Regions from separate parts of the Homo sapiens genome. Here region 1 is linked to region 2. Evidence: promoter capture Hi-C in human tissues and cell types (Jung and others, 2019). All regions are on one chromosome and are shown on one strand. The core of a region is centred on a gene start or on the middle of the fragment in contact, and the rest is flanking DNA. Distances in the headings are between cores, read along the strand shown. Region 1 has its middle 17 kb from the start of MPZL2. Region 2 holds the start of TMPRSS4 (transmembrane serine protease 4).

Region 1 (6,788 bases), core at 4,281-6,780, 200 kb before region 2:
GTGATCCTCCCGCTTCAGCCTCCCAAAGTGCTGGGATTACAAGTGTGAACCCCTGCACCTGACTACATTGAAAATCTGTTGTTTAGTGTAGCCACCTTCATCAATTACCTTACTTAGATCTACTGAATAACTTGCTGCAGCTTCTACATCAGCACTTGTTGGTCTACCTTGTACTTTTATGTTATAGAGATGGCTTCTTTCCTTAAACCTCATGAACCAACCTCTGCTAGCTGCAAACTTTTCTTCTGCAGCTTCCTCACCTCTCTCAGGCTTCATAGAATTGAACAGAGTCAGGGCCCTGCCCTGGATTAGGCTTTGACTTAAGGAAAGGTTGTGGTTGGTTTGATCTTCTATCCAGACCACTCAAACTTTCTCCATATCAGCAACAAAGCTGTTTTGCTTTCTTATCATTCATGTATTCGAGTAGCACTTTCAATTTCTTTTAAAAACTTTTCCTTTGCATTCACAACTTGGCTAGCTGTTTGGTGCGAGAGGCCGAGCTTTCTGCCTATCTCTGCTTTCCATATGCCTTCCTCACTAAGCTTACTCATGTCTAGTTTTTGATTTAAAGTGAGAGACATGCGACTGCCTTTCACTTGAACACTTAGAGGCCATTGTAGGGTTCACCTGGCCTGATTTCAATATTGCTGTGTCTCAGGGAATAGGGAGGCCTGAGAATAGAGAGAGAGATGGGGGACTGGCTGGTCTGTGGAGCAGTCAGAACACGCACAACATTTTCTGATTAAGTTTGCCATCATGTATGGGCATGGTTTGTTGTGCCCCAAAACATCTACTACTGTAACACCGAAGATCACGATCAAAGGTCACCACGACATATAGAATAATAATAAACAAGCTTGAAATGTTGTGAGAATTACTAAAACATGACACAGAGACACAAAGTGAGCACATGCTGTTGGAAAATGATTTGCTCTACATGGGGTTGTCACAAACCTTCAATTTGTAAAAAACACAATACCTGCAAAGTGCAATAAAGTGAAGTGCAATAAAATGAGGTCTGCCTATACAGCATAAAGCAGTAGATGAGTCACAAAAATAATTTAACACCCTCGTAGCAGTGTATCCTTAATGCCCAGATTGTAGGTTCAAACACCATTTCCCACTAAAAGAAATCAGGGATCCTTGAAGAATTGCGGATGATTTTAAGTCTATGGCAAGAAGTGTTCAAGATGAGCCTGGAACATCTCGTCATATGGGTCAAAAGGACTGTCACATGAGGAATTACCTTGGTGCAATGATAACCTTCTAACATATTACATAACAAGCTATCCCAGAGGTCACAGAACAGAATGGCTCACAGACAAAATTACGATCCTGAATCACTTGGTTTATCAACTCAATTAAAATGTTTAGTAAGAAGCAATGGAAAAGAGATGAGGAAGGTTAACACCCTTAGCACAGGGTGGAAGAAGTACCCTATGTGAGTTCTGTGTTATGTAACGCTCATATGCCGAATCTTTCTATTGCATCAGCCTTCCCCACCGATGGTTACAAGGACCTGAGTTGTGGATGAGCAAGAGGACTCAGCAAATTGACTGGGCCTGGAGCCCAAACACTCTTGCTCTATTGTAGGAAGGCAAGGGCAAGAATCCTTGGCTACAGCTGTAGCTTGCCGATTACCCTGTTGGGCAGCTATGGGTTTTATCTGCATATCTCAGGCAGAGGATGCAGATTGCCAGAATGGGTGTCACAACGGGATGGCTGGTTTAAATTTTTGTGAATATTCAGTGCCTCATAAATATTTGGTGTTTCCTGTGTCTTGTGTCTACTTGGTCTGTCCATCCCTTCTTATATCAGCATAAATCTGCTCTACTTACCAAGGTCTAACACGTCTTACAAGCTACTTGCTTCTACACTTAATTTCATCTAGTCTCCATATTTGTTTCCTTCTCTTACTTTCTATAGCAGACTTTAACATTCATAAAGAATGCAGCAAACACACCTTGCAAGGATGCACTTGAAGCTGGAAGAGCCTCTTCCAACTTGAAGAGGCTCCCGATGGCCAAAGATGAGAAAATTTGAGAATCAATAAGAATAATAATGATGTTGTTTGAAACACATCAAATATATTTAATGCTATGTTTAGCTTTCAATTTAAAGTGAGAGGTGTGTTAACTACCTTTCACTTGAACACTTAGAGGCCATTGTAGGGTTTAATTGGCCTAATTTCAATATCATGTGTCTCAGGGAATTGGGAGGCCTGTGAAGAGAGACTGGGGAATGGCTGGTCATTATGTCACAATGTCATTATGTGTAATAACACTAAAAACAAAAAACTCTCATTGCTAATCATTGGAAGATGCTAGTGAACCAATGCATTGTGCTCAAAATCGATCTTTTCTTTTCTTTTTTTTTTTCTTTTGAGACGGAGTCTAGCTCTGTCGCCCAGGCTGGAGTGCAGTGGCTCGGTCTCGACTCACTGTAAGCTCCGCCTCCTGGGTTCACGCCATTCTCCTGCCTCAGCCTCCTGAGTAGCTGGGACTACAGGCGCCCGCCACCACGCCCGGCTAATTTTTTGTATTTTTAGTAGCAACGGGGTTTCACCATGTTAGCCACGATGGTCTAGATCTCCTGATCTCGTGATCTGCCCTCTTCGGCCTCCCAAAGTGCTGGGATTACAGGCGTGAGCCACCATGCCCGGCCTCAAAATCGATCTTTTCTATATGAACCATCCCAGTGAGTAGTCACTTTGTAGATGAGGGAGTTTCTGTTTCTAGAAATAGTCTAGCTAATAAATAAAGTAGGGATGATATGATTAGAAGATCATCACTTTGCACACCAAATGAATGAATGGATCTGGGCACTGAGCATCAAAGGCTACTGACATCAAACACACAAAGGAGACAACCACATACTATATTCCTCCTGGAGGAAGACCACAACACTGCCTGTGAGGTAGTCTTGCTTTAAAAAAGTCAGATTTCAATCTGATTGAGCCTCAGTTCAGTCCACATCAATAGCTTTCAAGGAGTGGTCAGCATCAAGCACACAGGAAGTTGCTGGAAATGCAAACTTTTGGGACTTTCCCAGACCAGAATCAGAAACTCTGAGGGTGGGGCCCAGCAACCTGTTGCGACAAATCATTCAGGTGATTCTGATGCTCACTAAAAATGGAAAACTACTGCTTTAAATACAATACCAGTCTATAGGAAATACAGAGGAACATATTAAACAACACCTTCGTGATGCAGGCAAAAAAAAAAAAAAATACTGTGGAAAACCATGAGACAAATGACTCAATTTCTTTAAATGTAAATTGCAAGGAAACAAAAAATAATAAGGAATAATAATAAAAGATAATAAGGAACCCATAGATTAAGAGAGATCTAGGAAACATAAAGACCAATTGCAAATTTTAGACCTTATTTGGACCTTCATTCAAATAAACAAATTGTAAAAACATGTTATAACATTTATGAGATAACTGGAAATTGTAACACTGGTTATTTGACATTTAGGAAATGCTAATTCTCTTAGAATATGATAATGGAGACTGGATATGGTAGCTCAGGCCAGTAATCCCAGCGCTTTGGAAGGGCGAGGCAGGAGGATTGCTTGAGGCCAAGAGTTCAAGACCAGCCTGGGTAACATAGACAGACTGTTTCTACTATAAGATAAAAAAAAAATTAGCCAGGGATGGTGGTGCACTCCTGTGGTCCCAGCTACTTGGGAGGCTGAGGCAAGATAATTGATTGTGCCATGCACTCCAGCCTGCGTGACAGAGCAAGACTCCATCTCTAAAAATATAAAATAAAATATGATAATGGTGTTGAAGTATTTAAATAATTAAATGGGGGGGGCATTAGACTGAGGAGGCTCTAACTAAGTTCCTACTAAGCAAGCTAAAACCTAACTCAGTCTCATTTCCTGTAAGCAGTTAATTTAAAAGAAACTTAGCCAATCACAGAAGGCCATCTGGGCATTAGTTATATTGTCTTTAACTTCCTATTGGATAGTCTAAATAAGGAAATTCTGGAAGTTTAACCAATCAAATAATTTCTTTGCTCTGCTTCTGCATTTACCCTATTAGAGCCTTCCCCTCTTGCTCCGTCCTCGAAGCCCAAACCATTTCCAGTTTGGAGCAGCCTGATCAATGAATTGCTGTTTGCTCAAATAAACTCTTCAAAGTTTTAAAGTGTGCCAAAGTTTATCTTTTAACAGAAGTTATATTTATGGGCAAAATGATATGGTATCTTCAATTTGCTTCAAAATAATATTGGGTGGGTAGATAAAGACATAAATGACCATGGGTTGCTGATAATAAGGGCTGGGTGATAGGACATGGGGTTTGTTATATTATTTTATCTACATTTGTATATGTTTGAAATGTTCCATAGTAAAAAGCAAAAAAAAAAAAAAAAAAATTATTGACTTTGTGTGAGCCCATGAGAAAAGCTTTGGATTTAGAGACAGAACTCCCAGATTCAGCCCTAATTTTTCCATTTATTTTCTAGCCAGAGTGAGCTGAGTAACTGGGTAAACTGTTTCATCTCTGTCATCCTCATTTTCCTTATCTAAAGTAGATGAGGAAAATTGGGTAGAATAGAATAGTGAGAATTAAATGATACAATGTATTCAAATGCTTTGCAAAGAGCTTTGCAGATGGAAGGTTCTAGTATCTGGGTTGTGAATTCCATGAAGCTAAATATGGCATCTTCATATATTTTTTTTCAGCACAGTGTTAGACATATAACAGGTGCTCTATAATTATTCAGCCTTAGTTTTTAAATTCAATTTAAACATTATTTGGTAGATGAATGAATGGGTATATTCCAAATCCTAGGTTTCAGCCCAACATAGTACCATTCTTGATCATTAACTTAGTAATTAAAACTTATAAAGAGTGAATAAAAGTAGGAGACACATTCTGACAATTAGTATTTAATTAGTGTTTATTATTTAATCGACATTATCAATTAGTTTTAATTTAATCATGTTCAAATAGAATATATTATGATACAGATTACATTTGCTCCTTTCCTTTCATGGTTGCACCTAGGCTGAAAACAGAGGAAGGTGGGAAGCCCTTGTTCAGTGTAGATATCCCAGTCTTAGAGATGATCTTCACTTAGATGCAAAGATAAGCCAAGTTAAAGCTGGGACTGAGTTTTAGGTTGTCACTTCACTTCCTTAGTAAACTTCTTTAGGTTCCAACAGTGGGAGCTCCATACTGCTTAGCATCACTGAGGTGTGGGGCACACAGATGCTTCAGTAAGAATGCATTCACTCATCCAGCAAATGCGTATTGAGCATCTACTATGTGCCTAACAGTTAGGTGTTGGGGATACAGAGACATGAACCCTGCCCTGGAGGGATTCAGTCTACAGTAGAGGCAGACGTGTAAACAAGTAATGACCATACAGTGCAGCAAAGGCTATAAAAAAGGTGTCCCAAGGTGCTAAGGGAACTATTAACTCCAGGTCCAGGGGACAGGGAAGGCTTCATGGAATGTGAACTTAATTTTGAAAGGCAAATAAGAGTTGATCAGCTGGATAAAGTAGACAGAACATATGCACAAATATATATGTGGAGGTAAGAACAAGTATGTGATTAGTTTGGCATAGTGATGAATAAGGCTTAAGGAGCCTGGAAAGTGGGGAAAGAGGGGCTGGTTAGTTGACAGAGGCAGATCATGAAAGGCCTTAATCTGTGAATTAAGAAGAGCCAGTTAAGGTATACATCCAGCTTAATAAGATAAGAGACCTTAAAGTAAATGGAAAATTATACCTTTATTATAGTTATGCACAAAACAGTTTTTAAAGAGGTTTTTTTTTTTTTGAGACAGAGTCTTGCTCTGTTGCCCAGGCTGGAGTGCAGTGGCGTGATCTCGTCTCACTGCAACCTCCATCTCCTGGGTTCAAGCAATTCTCCTGTCTCAGCCTCCTGAGTAGCTGGGACTACAGGCACACACCACCATGCCCAGCTAATTTTAGTATTTTTAGTAGAGACGGGGTTTCACCATGTTGGCCAGGATGGCCTCGATCTCTTGATCTAATGATCCGCCCACCTCAGCCTCTCAAAGTGCTGGGATTACAGGTATGAGCCACCGATCCTGGCCTAAAGAGCTTTTAAAGAGAATCCTGTCTTTTAAAGGATCCTCAGGGACCATTTATGCATTTCACAAGTCATCATACTTATGATTTTATAATCAGTGCCTGGTTTGGTCATTCACTTTCTTACTTTCTTTGGATTTGATCTACATGACTTTTAAATGTGTCCAAAAATCAAGCCCATTCTCAAAAGCATGAGGATTTGCCATCAGTAAAAATCTCAAGGCTGGATGCAGTGGCTCATGTCTGTAATTCCAACACTTTGGGAGGCTGTGGTGAGTGGATCACTTGAGGTCAAGAGTTTGAGACTAGCCTGGCCAACATGGTGAAACCCTGTCTCTACTAAAAATACAAATAAAATACAAACTTAGCCGGGCATGGTGGCACGTGCCTGTAGTCCCAGCTACTAGGGAGGCTGAGGTGGGAGAATTGCTTGAGCCCAGGAGGCAGAGGTTGCAGTGAGCCGAGATTGCATCACTGCACTACAGCCTGCGCAACAGAGCGAGACCCTGGTTTTTTTTTTTTAAATCGAAAAATGTTATGATTCAAACTCCTAAGGCAATTCTAAAAATGTTCTAGAAATATCTGGAATAACGTCAGCATCATTAGAATAAAAGCTTGTCCCCAAGGTGACAACTTTAAATGACAATTTTTCTTTGGCTTTAAAAGCTTCTTTTCCTCTTGGTTATTGCTAATGTAGCTCAGCAGATATTGACA
Region 2 (6,616 bases), core at 790-3,289:
GCCTTTGGGGCCCCAGGCCTGACCTGACCCCTCCACCAGTGTTCCCACCTGCCCTCCCCCGCTCCTCCAGCAATGCCCAGCTCCTTCCCTGGTGGCAAAGGGTCTGTGTTGGGTGTACTACCCAGCTGTCATTTCCTAGCACAGACTCCTCTTTAGTCCTAAGTCCTTACATCTGTGCGGGGCTTCATGGTTTCCAGAACCTACTCACATGTATTAGCTGTGTAATCTCTGCGAACCCGGTGCATGTGCGTGGGGCTGTTGTGGGTCATATCGTTTCCGTGGGCAGGGGAGAAGGTGAGTCTCGGGAAGATGAATGCCTCAAGACAGCACAGCTAATCAGGGAGCTGGCCTCAGCCTTCTGATTCTGCAGTTAGTGACCTGCCCTAGAAATGATTCCCTTCTCTGTTGCTCCCCCAAGAGACACCCCAGGTCTCCTCAGTGCCTGCCACCCAGAAGCAGCTCACAGCTAGGTAGACTCCACAGCTGCTCTCCTCTCCTGGGAGCCCCAGGGGATACAGCGTCTCTGCACACAGGCCAAACTTTGGGGCGCCTCCTTGGATGGGAAAGCAGGAAGCTTGTGCTTTGATCCTGGCTCAAAGGGAAGCCCCTTCCCCTTTCTGATCATCAGCTACAACCGCACTAAGAATTGTTCTTGCCAGAATTTTCAGAAGAGTGTCGTGGGAAGTGCTCAGGTTGGGAATAGGAGACAATCACTCGAGGGGCCCCTGCAGGTCACACCCTTCCCCCTTGGACAGTGGCTTCTCCTTTCCTCTCTTCCCTTCCCTTTCACTTTGGTGGCTGGGCAATTGCTGCCTCTTGGCCAAGGACTGGAGAAGGAAGACCCCTGGGTTCCTCCTCAGACCCAGTTATTATCTCTTCCCCTCCCTGGCCCTCAGCTGTCCTCCTTGAAAGATAGGGTTGATTCTCTTTGCCCCAAGACAGCGAAGACGCTCCAGGTATTCAGAGGAGGAGGAGAGAGGGTGAGGGCATGAAAAGAGACCAAGTAAAAGATGACCACAAACACCCTAGATTGTTTGGAGGCATCTCTGCACTGTTTTCTTTTCCTTCTTTCTTTTTTTTTTTTTTTTTTTTTTTTTTTTTTTGAGACGGAGTTTCACTCTTGTTGCCCAGGTTGGAGTGCAATGGCACAATCTTGGCTCACCACAACCTCCGCCTCCCAAGTTCAAGCGATTCTCCTGCCTCAGCCTCCCAAGTAGCTGGGATTACAGGCACCTGCCACCACGCCTGGCTAATTTTTTGTATTTTTAGTACGGATGGGGTTTCACCATACTGGCCAGGCTGGTCTCAAACTCCTGACCTCGAGAGATCTGTCTGCCTCAGCCTCGCAAAGTGCTGGGACTACAGGCGTGAGCCACTGCACCCAGTCTACACTTTTCTTTAAAAAGAAAAGGAATCAGTTTCCCCAGGGAGTGGCAGAGGGCAACCGTGGCATCAGAACAGCCCCCTGCCTTGGAAAAATAGTGCCAACCTCTAACCAACAGACCTGGAGACATTGGGCAAAAGAACATGCAGGATTCAGGAAAGAATAGTCGGGAAGGACAGCCCTGGCTCTGTGCTCAGCTTCTTAGGTGAGCTGGTCCAAGGACCATGGCAATGGAGGAAGAGAGGAAGGCAGGTGGGTATGAGACGTGTACCGGGCTGGGGTGTGAGGGGATTTGGGTGTGGCCTCTTTTTTTAACCTAGAAGGTGTCACAGAATTCTCAGCTGATGGATGCTCAGGCTGCTTGAAGGGCCTTACATGGGGAGACCCACCCTTCCTGTGTCTTGGGAGCAGAGGGCCCCACACTCACCATGCTGGCTCTGTGATCCTCCCGGTCTCCCTGTAGCCTGGAGCTGAGATTGTCACCCCAAGGCAGCAGGAGGGCCTCCCCACACAGGTCCTGGCTGGCCAGCAGGTCAGAAGTCCCTGGTCAGCACTGGCTGGAGGAGGCCCGAGTGCAGGGCAGGCCTTGGTCCCTCACGCCCAGCATCCTTGTCCGCTGAGCAAGCTGCTGCCTCTCTCTGTGTATTCCAGGAGTGATTGGGGGACTTTGGGCAGCTTGATTAAAACAGCCCTACAAGTGAAGTTGCCAAACTGGAATGATTATGTGTCTTGTAACCTGACACCTATCTTAGGGGCTGGAACAACACCTGAAGTCATTCATGGGACCTTCGGCCTCAGAACAGGTGACACACCTAAGGCGTAACAAAAGCCTTCCCGCCTGAATGACTTCCACCCAACTGGGTGTTGGCTGAGGGTGATGCCAGAAGTTTCCGCCCCCCCTCCCCCTACCTTCTAGGTGCATGACTTCTCACTGTGTGGGTGCTTTGGTTTGGGGTTGTGGGAAGTTGGAGTGGTCTGGGGGTTGGGCGACAGGGTTTGCAGCTCAGTACAAAGAGATCATTGCCAGGTGTGGAGCAATAGGATTGGAAAGTCCACAGAGAAGGAGGGAGTTTCTTCTCTTAGGGAGGTAAGATGTACCCCCTTTCCCTGGATCCCAGAAGTGAAGCTGTCCTGCACAGAGCCAATGTACTAGTGCTTCCTGCCCCTGCCTCAGCAGCCGTTCAATATTCTGAAAATCACTATTGGTGCTCTGGCTAGAGCCCACGTCTCCTCGTCCACGGAGTCATTTCCTTCTTTCTTTCTTTCTTTTTTTCTTTTCTTTTTTTAAGACAGGGTCTCTCTCTGTCCCCCAGGCTGGAGTGCAGGGGCGCAATCTCAGCTCACTGCAACCTCCGCCTCCTAGGTTCAAGCAATTCTCGTGCTCCAGCCTCTCGAGTAGCTGGGACTACAGCCACCTGCCACCACACCCAGCTAAGTTTTGTGTTTTTGTATTTTATTTTATTTTGAGACAGAGTCTCTGTTGCCCAGGCTGGAGTGCAGTGGCGCGATCTTGGCTCACTGCAACCTCCACCTCCCAGGTTCAAGTGATTCTCCTGCCTCAGCCTCCCAAGTAGCTGCTGGGATTACAGGTGTTGTGCGCCACCATGCCTGGCTAATTTGTATTTTTAGTAGAGATGGGGTTTTGCCATGTTGGCCAGGCTGGTCTCAAACACCTGGCTTCAACTGATCCACCTGCCTCAGCCTCCCAAAGTGCTGTGATTATGGCGTGAGCCACCGCACCCAGCCCCACAGGATCATTTCTGATTCACGTTCTGCCACATCCTGATAGCTGGAGCTGCCCCCTGGCCAGGGGATGTGCAAGGTGAAACCTTACAGCCACAGATATTTTGCTGGGAGAGACTTGGATAATTGTCCACATTGTTCCCCCATTCTGTGGGCGACAAAACTAAATTCCAGAGAGGCAAAGTCAATGACCCAAAGTCACATAATGAATTAGTGTCTGGTTCCATATGAATCCAGATCTCCTTCCATTTCTCAGACCTGACCCTCCCAGGAGACCAGCCTGGGTTAGACGTGTGTATTTGTCCTTCTGTTGATAACGTGCTTCTGTGTATCAGCCCTTTAATTCTCCAACAACAACCCCAATATTTTGTTCCCATTTGTCAGCTGAGGAAACTATAGCCTATGGACATGAAGTAGTTTCGGGCAGAGTTGGGGCTGGAACCTGGTTCTCTTACTGGTTCACACTGCCAGGCTTGTGAACAGGCTGAATGGAACACAAGTGTTTGAAAGCCCCAGGTTCATGGTTTGGGATAATATGGCCCATGGAGGACCCCAGTGATGTCTGAGCAGGAGGAATACCGGATCTGTGTAATGGATTATTGGCCAAATCTCAGCTGATGAATGCAGTGTGGCCTTGGACTTGTCTCTGAGCAGCAGAGATCTGAAGCTGGCCTGCAGGGCTCTGGAGCCAGCACAGCCCCAGCCCTTCCTTACTGATGGCTGGTGGCCTTGAGAGTTGGAAGTCTTGGGCAGAGGCAAGAGCCTGTGATCTCAGGTGACCTCAGGGTCAGGGCCGTGATGGTCCAGGCAGGCACCTCCCCAGCAGCAGGGCAGTGAGAAGCCAGTGGGCCACTGGGAGCCACGTTTTCAGTTGTCTTGGTTCCTCTATGTGCCAGGCTAAACATCTGGCCCACAGGTTTGCATTGCTTTACCTGGTGCTCAGGTGATGAACCAGGAAAGAGGCAGCTGTCTGGGCATGAAGGCTGCTGGGCATGGCTGGTTGGAGGGATGATGACTCAGCCCTCCTGGCTTCTGCTCCCATTTGGGTCTGGGAGTTTGTGGAGAGGTCCGGGAAGAAGGCACATAAGCAGGACTGGGCAGGGTGGCTGTGATGCCTGCAGGTGGGGGTGAAGGTTTACAGAGGGAGGCACAGTGGCCTGGAGACAACAGAGGCCCACCTCTCCCAGGTGCCAGGGAAAACCAGCTGGACCAGAACCCACATTCTTTTTTTTTTTTTTTTTCTGAGACAGGGTCCCCCTCTGTTGCCCAGGCTGGAGTGCAGTGGTGCAGCCTCAGCTCACTGTAACCTCCACCTCCTGAGCTCAAGGGATTCCCCCGCCTCAGTCCCCCAAGTAGCTGGGATTACAGGTGTGAGCCACTATGCCTGGCTTATTTTTGTATTTTTTGTAGATACAGGGTTTCACCATGTTGACAAGGCTGGTCTCAAACCCCTGAGCTCAAGCGATCCACTCGCTCTGGTTTCCCAAAGTGCTGGGACTACAAGTGTGAGCCACCGCACCCGGCCCAGAACCCCCATTCTCCCGGAGGAAGCCTCAGCTCTCCCTCAGCCCTGTCCTGCCTGCTTCTTTCTCTTGCCCATCCATCTCTTTAGATCCTCCTCCTGTTTTTCCTCTCTTCTTTCCCTCCCATTACTTCTCTTTTATCTCTTCCTCTTTATTTTTGACATTTTTTTCTCTTCCTTCTTCCCTTTCCTTATCTGTTTCCAGCATGTGTGTCAAGATCCGAGGCAGAGTTATCATGAAACTCCTGAAGCTGAAGCTTCAGAGCCCCTCACTTGCACGGTTCCTTCCAGGGCCCTGGGAAAGGGCCCGGCAATATGTTCACACAATCATACGTTTTTGTAAATTTTGCTGAATATTTCTTTGACGTGCTTTTTCTTCAAGAAAGCCCCTCAAGAAGTGGCCTATCCCTGTGAGTGAAGGCCAGAGCCTTCCTCACCCAGGCTGGTCCCATACAGGTGACCTCAGTTTAAGGACCAACAGGTCTCGTCCAGCTGAGAGCTCTATGCACACCAGATTCTGAGAGGTGTCAGCAGCACTTTAAAAAACTTTGTTGTTTGTTTTCTATGAGGTTTCTGGACAATGGTCTGAGCTCAGACACGTTCTGCAGGAGAATATTATTTCTGTAAAGATGGTTATTTAACCCTCCTCCACCCCATCATGGCGGCGCTGCTGAGGGCTGACCCAGAGGCCAGGGGAACTCGCTGGTGTCCATGGGGGAGGTCCAAGGCCTATTGCCACAGCCCTCCCGCCTTGCACAGCACAGAGGCGGTCACCCCAGGGACAGGCAGGCACCCGGCTGCTCCTGTTGCCCTTCCTGGAGGAGGGGGCTGCCTCCTGTCCCTGCAACTGCTTTCCTTATGGGCCAGCCTGACGCTCAGACTTGTTTGAAGCTGCACCGGCAGCTTTTTTGTCTCTTTTCGGCATTCACAACAGCCGGGGACTTGATCTGGATGTATTTTAAACCACATTAAAGAGTCTGTTGCTTTTTGAAAAAAACCAAGCCCCTCAAAATGCATAAGCTTCAGGCCTCTCAAAACCTGAATCCTCCCTGGTCAAGAGCTTGAGCTCTAGTGGCCTGGGGTCCTGCCTCCTAATCTCAGCCACTAATGATTTGCGTAACCATGGGCATCTTATTTAATCCTCTTGCACGCCATCTTCTTCATCTGTAAAGTGGGGATAACAATACTTCTGACCTCATAGGGTTGTTATGAAGATTAAGAGATAATCCTGGCTGGGCGCAGTGGCTCATGCCTGTATTCCCAGCACTTTGGGAGGTCAAGGCAGGTGGATCACTTGAGGTCAGGAGTTTGAGACCAGCCTGGCCAACATGGCAAAACCTCTATTAAAAATACCAAACTACTCTACTAAAAATACCAAAAAAATTAGCCGGGCGTGGTGGAGGGTGCCTGTAATCCCAGCTACTCAGGAGGTTGAGGCAGGAGAATCGCTTGAACCCAGGTGGAGGTTGCAGTGACCCAAGATCTTGCCACTGCACTCCAGCCTGGGTGACAGAGCGAGACTCCGTCTCAAAAACAACAACGACAACACAAGACCTTCACTTCCATGTGAAGTGTTTGGTGCCTAAGAGAGATGTTGTAAATGGCACTGTTATCCCCATTCATTTCACAAAATGTGTGTTTATGGAGCTCATGCTAGGCCTACCTCTTGTGTTAGGCACTGTGGATTAGGAGATAAAACACAGGCTCTGAATACAAACACCCTACAGTCTACTGAAGGAGACAGGAGACATCCACACATCACAGTAAGCTTAAAAAGATGTTCTAGTAGAGATAAAAAGAGAACACTTGGGGGTTTGGAAACCTTTTTTCATTTTTACAGCTCTCTCTGCTCCCTTCCTCCTTCCTCTCCTCCCTGCCTGATTTCCTTCTTTCTTCCTGCCTTCATTTTTCCCCTAGATATTTTTGCTTAGCTACAGTAATTTGTAGGATGATATATCAATTGCCAG

The links. Contacts are between HindIII fragments. The study calls those that stand out against the background at their distance.
Region 1: a contact is called between a fragment that was not itself captured here and the fragment with the promoter of TMPRSS4 in region 2, in 3 of the 25 tissues and cell types used here (heart right ventricle, mesendoderm cells and thymus).

The regions. Positions count from the first base shown.
Region 1 is chr11:118,277,679-118,284,466 of GRCh38, reverse strand. No RefSeq gene overlaps it. Among named protein-coding and RNA genes, the nearest start is that of MPZL2, 17 kb to the right of the region's middle. RefSeq lists an enhancer at 6,739-6,788. The HindIII fragment of the contact is 5,787 bases long and covers 2,637-6,788 here.
Region 2 is chr11:118,072,501-118,079,116 of GRCh38, reverse strand. It overlaps TMPRSS4 (transmembrane serine protease 4), which reads right to left and starts at 2,039. Exons shown (of 13, transcript NM_019894.4): 1 at 1,812-2,039. The coding sequence starts at 1,814. All of the region lies in intron 1 of SMIM35 (small integral membrane protein 35), which reads left to right. RefSeq lists an enhancer at 1,589-2,184. The HindIII fragment of the contact is 5,819 bases long and covers 1-5,288 here.